2 separate regions of the Homo sapiens genome follow, and region 2 is linked to region 1. Evidence: promoter capture Hi-C in 16 types of primary human blood cells and fetal thymus (Javierre and others, 2016). All regions are on one chromosome and are shown on one strand. Each heading gives the region's core, a stretch centred on a gene start or on the middle of the fragment in contact. The rest is flanking DNA. Distances are from core to core; before and after follow the strand shown. Region 1 holds the start of PLK1 (polo like kinase 1). Region 2 overlaps PRKCB (protein kinase C beta).

Region 1 (4,712 bases), core at 1,073-3,572:
ACAAAAAGGAATTAAGGAGGAAGCCACCTGGCTTCCTAAGATAGACTTTATGGTTAATGGGATTTATTTTAGCTGGTTAAGTCCAGGACCCCTACCAGGAAGAACTGAGGTCCATATTTGAGGTTGGTCTCACCCTTTTGCATGTGGTCCTACTAATAATAATTTTGCTGTAAAGAAGCCTCAATAAGGAGATGGACTGTGTGAAAAGAGATGAGAAAGCAGGCCTGTTTGCAAGGCTGGCCCTTGGCTGGCATCTGAAAGCTTGGATTTCAGGAGGGTTCTCATTACTCCCTAAATGATAAGAGTGGCTCACTGTGCCTAAACTGTTCGTACAAACAATGTGGGTTATGCCCAACATCTGCTTTCCTTCTGGGAGTCAGATTTTCATATGTGTTAGGCAGAGGATGAGGTGAGCAGCTCCCAATGAGAACCCTGAACACTGAGTCTGTAATGAGCTTCCCTTGTATACAACATTGCACATGGGTTGTCACAACTGATTGCTGGAGGAATTGTGTCCTATGTGACTCTGCTGGGAGAGGACTGTGGGAGGCTTACACCTGGTTTCCCTGGACTTTGTCCATGCGCTTTTTTCCTTTGCTGATTTTGCTTCCTAGCCTTTCGCTGTAGTAAAACATAGCCATGAGTATGACTACAGGCTGAGTCTGTGAATCTCCTAGTACATCATCAGACTAGGAGGTGGTGGTGTTGGCACCCCCCAGCACAGGGCACAAGGGAGACTTGCAGGGTGTTTGTCATGTTCCCTTTCTCAATCTGGGTGTGGTTTACAGATTTGTTCAGTTTGTGAAAATTCACTGAGCTCTATGAACAATTATAATATGTACATTTTTTTCTGTAAGTGTATTAAATTTCAATAAAAAGAATTCACACTATAGGGGTACAAAATAACTTAATTTTTCAAAGTCTTCCTTTTATTCAGCCAACATTTTAGTAAGTACCCTTTTTTTTTTACCAAGCACTGCTCTGGGAGCTTGGGACATGGGGTAGAAAGGACGGCATCATTGTCCTCATTGTCCTTCAGCTTAGCTGCAAGGCAGGTGAAGGATGCTTATAGTATGGTTGATTTTTGCTGGGCTCTATGAAGGATCAGAGGGTGCTAAGGAGGCACAGAGAAAGAGCTTTTAACGTGGGTATTTTACTGTTCCAGGGTTGCCACTCAAGTACCTACAGAACAAACGGGTGTAGCTGTAAACTGTGGCAAACTGAAAGCATGTAGGCACAGAGTAAGTAGCTAGAGCTGATTTTTTTCAGGAAAGGCCACAAATCCCAACTTTTATGAGCTCCTCTTTTAAATGCTGTAAATGTTTTACAATGGCGGGGCGCGGTGGCTCACGCCTGTAATCCCAGCATTTGGGAGGCCGAGGGGCAGATCACTTGAGGTCAGGAGTTCAAGACCAGCCTGGCCAACATGGTGAAACCTCTTCTCTACTAAAATTACAAAAATTAGCCGGGCATGGTGGTGCATGCTTGTAATTCCAGCTGCTAGGGAGGCCGAGGCGGGAGGATTGCTTGAACCCGGGAAGCAGAGGTTGCAGTGAGCTGAGATCGTGCCACTGCACTCCAGCCTGGGCGACAGAGCAAGATTCCGTCACACACACAAAAAAAAGGCGTGGGGGGAGGCCAAACAAAACCCCGCAAGACACATTTGGCTATGACCTGCCAGTTTGCTAGGCATTCTTCCAACCTTCCCTCCCTCTGACCAAGAAACTGAGTGTCCACTATTTTAGGCCCTGGGAAATTCAGTAGCGAGGAGGCCAGACAGCTTCGTTGCATCATGGGGGGCTCTGGTACTGTGCTTCTCCAACTTCAGGATGTGTAGGAATCACCTGAGCAGTCTTGTTGAGAGGCGGACACTGACTCGGGAGGTCTGGGGTAGGGCCTGAACGTTTGCCTTTGCGGTTCTAACAAGCTCTCAGGTGATGGCGATGCTACTGTTCCCTGGCCCCGAGGTAGAGGAAGATTTAAGTAAAAGCTTCCTGGAGGAGGCGCAAGTGAACCGCAGGAGCTTTCCCGGACGCCCGAGAAAGGGAGAAACCCCGAAGGAATTCCTCCTCTCTCGGGGCTGGGTCTCCGCATCCACGCCGGGTTTGGTTTCCCAGGCTATCCCACGTGTTCGGGCGTCCGTGTCAATCAGGTTTTCCCCGGCTGGGTCCGGGTTTAAAGGCTGCTGCTGCGCAGGGCGCTCCCATGGTGCCGCGCGGCGGGCGGGTTTGGATTTTAAATCCCCGCGGCCAATCAGTGGCGCGCAGGCTTTTGTAACGTTCCCAGCGCCGCGTTTGAATTCGGGGAGGAGCGGAGCGGTGCGGAGGCTCTGCTCGGATCGAGGTCTGCAGCGCAGCTTCGGGAGCATGAGTGCTGCAGTGACTGCAGGGAAGCTGGCACGGGCACCGGCCGACCCTGGGAAAGCCGGGGTCCCCGGAGTTGCAGCTCCCGGAGCTCCGGCGGCGGCTCCACCGGCGAAAGAGATCCCGGAGGTCCTAGTGGACCCACGCAGCCGGCGGCGCTATGTGCGGGGCCGCTTTTTGGGCAAGGGCGGCTTTGCCAAGTGCTTCGAGATCTCGGACGCGGACACCAAGGAGGTGTTCGCGGGCAAGATTGTGCCTAAGTCTCTGCTGCTCAAGCCGCACCAGAGGGAGAAGATGTCCATGGAAATATCCATTCACCGCAGCCTCGCCCACCAGCACGTCGTAGGATTCCACGGCTTTTTCGAGGACAACGACTTCGTGTTCGTGGTGTTGGAGCTCTGCCGCCGGAGGGTGAGTGTCGCTGCTGGGGAACTGGAACTGCCTGCGGGGCAGTTGGAGCGCCCAGACCTGGAGCTGCTGGAAAGAGTACCCAGCAAGGGAGAGCCTGGGACTTGGAGCTGCTAGAGAAGGGTGCTGGGAGCCTCCCGCTTACGTATGGAAAGTGTCTTTGGTAAGGGCTTCTTGGCTCTGGGAGCTGCTAGAGGAGGGGGTTCCAGTGAAGTGGAGTCTGAGTCATGTTGCTGATAGGGAAGTCAGCTTCTGGACGCGAGGTGCTGGGGGGAGGGGTGCTGGTAATGGACGCTAGGGCCCTGGAGTACCCAGGGAGGAGTCCCAGGTTAGTGATGCCGCGCCCTGGGAGCTTCTGGGGTGGAGCTGGGTCAGTGGGGGGGTAGTTGGAGCCAGACTTCGGGCCTTCCGGGGGAGATACGAGTCAGGAAAGGGATCTGGTGCTGGGGACTCGGAGCTTCCGGAGTGGGGCTGAGAGAGGACCCCCAGGTAAGGGGGGAAGCTAGTAGGAGAAGGGGTGCTGCGAATGGTTGTGGACAGTGTTAAGGCAGGGTCCAGATGCCGCTGTGCTGGAGAAGGAATGGGGTGGGGGCATAGGGAAGGAGAGAAACCCACCAAGACCCCTCTTTCATCCCTTGGGAGTCCAGAGTCCAGTCCTGTGCTTCCTTTGCCTGGTAACCCTCTCCCTTCCCCACCGGCCTCAATCCACCTCCCCATCCCTCCTGCCCTCTCCTTCCCACCCACAGTCTCTCCTGGAGCTGCACAAGAGGAGGAAAGCCCTGACTGAGCCTGAGGCCCGATACTACCTACGGCAAATTGTGCTTGGCTGCCAGTACCTGCACCGAAACCGAGTTATTCATCGAGACCTCAAGCTGGGCAACCTTTTCCTGAATGAAGATCTGGAGGTGAAAATAGGTGAGTTGCTGAGCCTGCAGGGGTGCTTGACATCACTACAAGAGGCTGGAATTTGGAGGAGGCTGGGAGAAAGGAAGGAGACAACCCACAAGTCAGTATCTTGCCTACAGATGCATTATTTTTTTGTGCCCCAATGCAATATTTTTTTTTTACAAAGAATTTGAATTTGTTTTTATTTTTTAAATTGGAAGGTTTGATTGAACAAAAAGTTTGATTCAGAACTCCTTTTAAACAGGTGAAAGCTTCAGTAATACGAGGACAGCATTTTCTTAGGGCAGCCCTTTGCTGGGCTGGAAAACAGCTGTCCCCTTCAGACTTCTTTGCCACAGTCTCTACTCCTCCCTATTCTTCACAGACTTGCCAAGTCTTGGAGGTTAACTTGCTTGATCCTTGAAGGCATTGGAGTTTTACTATCCCTGTCAGTTCCTGTTTCAAAGCATAGCCCCTTTCTAAAAGGAGGGGTGAGAAGTGTCACTGGAGGCACCTCCCTGGTGTCAGCATGGGAGGAAGATTCCTGGGCAAGCCTTGCTACATACAAGGAGCAGAGGCTTGTGGGATCAGATGGCCCTGGTTCTGGATGGTCAAACCTTAACTAGCCTTCTGCATTGACAGATGTCAGAGGCTGGCATCTAAGTACCAACTCTTCCTCCCTCTGTCCCAGGGGATTTTGGACTGGCAACCAAAGTCGAATATGACGGGGAGAGGAAGAAGACCCTGTGTGGGACTCCTAATTACATAGCTCCCGAGGTGCTGAGCAAGAAAGGGCACAGTTTCGAGGTGGATGTGTGGTCCATTGGGTGTATCATGTAAGTTGGGAGTTGTCTCTGGACCAACCTGGTCTCAGCAGGGGCAACTTTGGGACATCCTACCTGGCTGACCTTTTCTGTGGACCTTTCGGCCTGCTTTACAGAAAGCCTACTCCAAGGGACAAGTCATCCCCAAACAAAGCCTAATTGTCATATCTTTCCCTGTCACTGGTGTATCCTGTCGGATTTCTGCAGCCTAGGTCATGGGTACAGCGGAGGA
Region 2 (4,393 bases), core at 1,522-4,021, 360 kb after region 1:
TGGCCTGTGGGGCAGGGGAGCAGACAGGCTTTGAGAGCTATGGCCACAAAGCTACAGGGACACTGGAGGTGCTGGTGGCTCCCACAGACCTGTTGGTCTGCAGCAGGCTGGGTGTCATGAGGCTAGTGGTACTGCTCTCCCAAGGGTCCTGAGGCCCAGAGGACAGAGGGAGAAAGTCATAGGGCAGAGAGTGACAGAGAGGACTGTGAGGGTGAATAAGGGTGGTAGGGAGCAAGACAGACAGCAAGAAACACACATGCATAGACAGACACAGATGCAGGGGAAAGATGGACACATGCAACCCTAACACAGGGAGGAATGTGGGGCGTGGAAGCTACAGAGAGACTCAGCTAGAGAGAGACTCAGGCAAAAGGAGGGACAGGCAGACACACAGACCAACAGATAAGCCAGGTGCAGTGGTTCACTCCTGTAATCCCAACACTTTGGGAGGCTGAGGCGGGTGGATCACCTAAGGTCAGGAGTTTGAGACCAGCTTGGCCAACGTGGCAAAACCCAATCTCTACTAAAAATACAAAAATTAGCCAGTCAAGGTGGTGGGTACTTGTAATCCCAGCTACTTGGGAGGCTGAGGCAGGAAAATCACTTGAACCCAGGAAGCAGAGGTTGCAGTGAGCTGAGATCACACTACTGCACTCCAGCCTGGGTGACAGAGTGAGACTCTCAAAGAAGAAGAAGAAGAAAAGATAAAATGATTGGCATGGACACAGAGAGAGACGCCATTACACAGGCTCATGCAGAGGTATAGAGATGGAAAGACCAGAGACAGAGACAGAAGCACACATGGAGAGCCACAGAGAGACACGGAGGAGAGAGGCAGAGAGACACAGTTGGAGAAAGGGAGAGACAAAGAGGCCAGAGACAAGTGCAGAGAGTGGAACAGACCGATTCACAGACACGGCCAAGGCAGTGAGCCACGTGCAGAAGTGGGACAGCAGAGACAAGAGACATGCAGCAACGTGGAAACAGAGAGACAGACACAGAAACATGGCAAGAGCCACAGGGGGACAGTGAGGTTGGAGCCTTCTGCCTGCAGGACACCAGCTCCTCTTACCACACATGGGGCCCTAATATAGGGACAATGTCCCTGCCTCAGAGACAGTGGTGGGTGGGAGCTCAGGCTGGTGCTCAGGTCCCAGAGGGCTCTCCCTTCCCTCCCCACAACTCATTTCTAGTTTTTGTAATAGGCCTGCTGCCTCCTGGGACTTGGGTGGTCTGAGAAGGGTCCCTTGCCCCCAGATCCCTTGAAATAGGGGCCCATGGGGTGACTTGGCCTCTCCTTCTGGCTTCTCCAACTGGAACTAGCGTCCCCCTGGAGAATCCTGGGTGCCTGGCACACCTTCCTGGAGTGGGGCATTATTGCTCAAGACCTAGAAGAAATCACCCACCACATTGAAATAGACACAGATACTCTACGGAGGAGTGCGCAGAGGGAGTGGATATCCTATAACATGAGAGATGGCCGAAGGCCAAATTCAGTGTATAGGCACATTTTATCCACCCTGCCCTGGCTCTAAATCTTTTTCCTTGTAATTAATTATGGTGGACACTATGGCCAGCCCAGACCCCCTCTTCATGGTCCCACCCCATCCCCTAGCTGTGGTTCACAGCAGTGCCCCATCCTGCATAATTGCCCAAGATAATGCCTCTTCCAGGGAGACCAGATGATTGTGGTGCCCAGCCCTCTTGTCTCAGTTTGGAACAACTCTGAAGGGTCATCTCAGCTCTGGGCTCCCCCTAACATCAGCTTTGATTGCATCCACGTGGCAAACGAACTTCTCCCCACAAGAGCACTCCCCAAAAACCTTGTGCTCAAAACTCCCCGTCTCAGACTCTTTCCAGGGAGCCCAACCTATTAGCTGTTAATATTTAAAAATCAGAGCTGTCACGTACACATCGAGATTCCTGCATACGTTGAGAAATGGGGAATGTTTTTGCTCTGTTTCCCACTTGGCTTGGCCAAGTCCCTGCCACCCCCTTAGCTTTCCTCACTCATGTGACCAGCCAGCCTGTGAGCATTGAAGTTGGTGACTCTGGCTTCAGAGCCTTAAGGGGTGTGGGGTGTGCTTGCTTCAGACTGCACCCTTGGCTGTGGGTGGGGAACAGACAAGTTCTACCTCCTTTGCCCATCAGGGTTCAGGGGGAAGAGTTGGAAAAGCCCTTCTGATGAGATCCTGGCAGGCAAGTTGGTCTCAGCCAGGCTCGTGTGTCTCAGCTGTCTCAAAGGAGGGAAACAGGAAGGGCTCAGCGGTCTTGGGTGGGGCAGATGTCTGCAGCCCCCAGCCTGGGCCAGCCTAAGCCACATCCCCTCTCTCTGCCCTCACAGCCTGCATGATGAATGTGCACAAGCGCTGCGTGATGAATGTTCCCAGCCTGTGTGGCACGGACCACACGGAGCGCCGCGGCCGCATCTACATCCAGGCCCACATCGACAGGGACGTCCTCATTGTCCTCGGTAGGTGGCCCTGGGGCTCCACTGGCTCCTGACCTTGCTTGACCTGTGTGATTGAGAAGGGGAGGGTGGCGGAGGGGTGGGGCAGTCCAGTGGAGGGGTGGGGCAGTCCAGGGACGGGGAGGGGGTGTGGCACTGCTTCTGCCCCATGCCCTGCCCATGACAGCCCCTCCCTGCAGCAGGGGGATCTTTAGAAACTGTACACCCTCAAAGCTTCGTCCATCAGCACCCCAGGCTGACTTGGGTTCAGAGAGGAGACGTCTGAGTTCCTTGGACTTCTAACTTCCTCAGGATCCTCCACTTCCCTTCTCTCCTTCTCATTTCCCACTCTTTTTTAGTAATCTTTTGGGATGGGTAGTTGCATTTCCTTTACTCAGATAGCAGAGAAGGGAAGCTTGCTTCTTCCGCAAACTTTTCCAGCAGGAAAAATGGAGTCTTGATGATAAACCCCAGATTTGGAGAATATAATATCTTGGGAAGGAGGAGGGTTGGAGGGTGCAATTCAGGGGCTTTCCACATATTTGAAATATTTCTTTCTTGAACCTGATGGTGGCTATGCTGTAATTTTATTATTCTCTATATTTTCTGCATGTCTAAAATATTTCATGATAATTAGAAAGCAGGATGGTACAGTCTCCTGGGAGATGCAGTGAGAGGAGGAGCTGCTGGTGGTGGTGGTGGTGGTGGTGGTGGGGCTGTCACTCATGTATCCCAGCATTCAAGACATACCTGGCTCTGATATGGGAAGTTCAAGCAAAATTGGAACTCAGCAGCACTGGCTTGAGGAATACTCAGCCATAAGCCCCGGTATAACCAGCACTGAGCTGGCTGGGAGTGGAGCTAAAACTTTGCAGGAATTTCTTCTCAAAGGCTAGTGACAAACTACTGTGGACTTTATATATCTAATGAATATAAATAAGGGTTTATGAGTTGGTAACTCAGGAAATTGATCATGGAAGAGATTAATTTTGCAAAAATTAGTGTTTCTGAGGCCTCAGACTGGTTCAGTAGCTCTGATGCATTGAGCCCTGGGTTGCGGAGGGGCTTTACGTAGATTGTGTAAAAGCTGAAAAATACTTATCCCTGTACAATATAATTCTTTTAAACTTGAGATTTCGTGAAGCCCAGTGAGATTTTAGAAAATGTGCAATCCATTGCATTATGTTTTCCTCCAAGTGGTCGCCTGCCTCCCAGTGTGATGCTTGGGGGCCCCAGGGGAAATCCCGCAGTTTCAGGTTCAAGGGAAGCCAGTTTTCCCCACTGATTGAGGTTCCCGATGCTGGTGAGACAAATATGAGACTCTGCTTCCCTCTGGTGTCATTCTGTGGGAAATACACTCGTTCCAAAGCATGACTGCGGGCAGCCAACATTTATGGGCCGCATGGGATGTGCAGTGCTCTAAACCTTACGTGTTATCTCTTTCCACCTTCACAACATTGTGAAATCTCTATTATTCTTGTTTGAGAGGGAGACTCCATCTGTTGCCCAGGCTGGAGTGTGGTGGCGCCATCTTAGCTCACTGGAACCTCCACCTCCCGGGTTCAAGCGATTCTCCTGCCTCAGCCTCCTGAGTAGCTGGGATTACAGGCGCCCACCACCACGCCTGGCTAATATTTGTATTTTTAGTAGAGACAGGGTTTCACCACGTTGGCCAGGCTGGTCTAGAACTCCTGACCTCAAGTGATCCGCCCATCTCGGCCTCCCAAAGTGCTGGGATTACAGGTGTGAGCCACTGCGCCCAACCTTCTATTATTCTTGTTTTATGAACAAAGAAGCCACGGCTCAGAGAAGTTATATTCCAAGAGCTCACACCATTTGCAATAATAATAAAACAATAGCTAAGATGTGTTTAGTTTTTAAAATGTGTTAATCATTGTGAAAAGCACTTACAGGCAGTATCTGATTTACATTGTTTCAACAACT

What was found. Contacts are between HindIII fragments. The CHiCAGO score rates a contact against its expected background, and 5 or more counts as called.
Region 2: a fragment that was not itself captured here is called in contact with the fragment with the promoter of PLK1 in region 1 in 5 of 17 cell types (M1 macrophages, megakaryocytes, total CD8 T cells and 2 more); the score reaches 7.0 in M1 macrophages.

Annotation. Positions count from the first base shown.
Region 1 is chr16:23,676,567-23,681,278 of GRCh38, forward strand. PLK1 (polo like kinase 1) reads left to right here and starts at 2,323. Exons shown (of 10, transcript NM_005030.6): 1 at 2,323-2,774; 2 at 3,518-3,686; 3 at 4,348-4,492. The coding sequence starts at 2,367. It overlaps DCTN5 (dynactin subunit 5), which reads left to right. Exons shown (of 6, transcript NM_032486.4): 6 at 1-906. The HindIII fragment of the contact is 1,938 bases long and covers 1,989-3,926 here.
Region 2 is chr16:24,033,075-24,037,467 of GRCh38, forward strand. It overlaps PRKCB (protein kinase C beta), which reads left to right. Exons shown (of 17, transcript NM_002738.7): 5 at 2,345-2,473. Among named protein-coding and RNA genes, the nearest start is that of MIR1273H, 170 kb to the right of the region's middle. The HindIII fragment of the contact is 181 bases long and covers 2,682-2,862 here.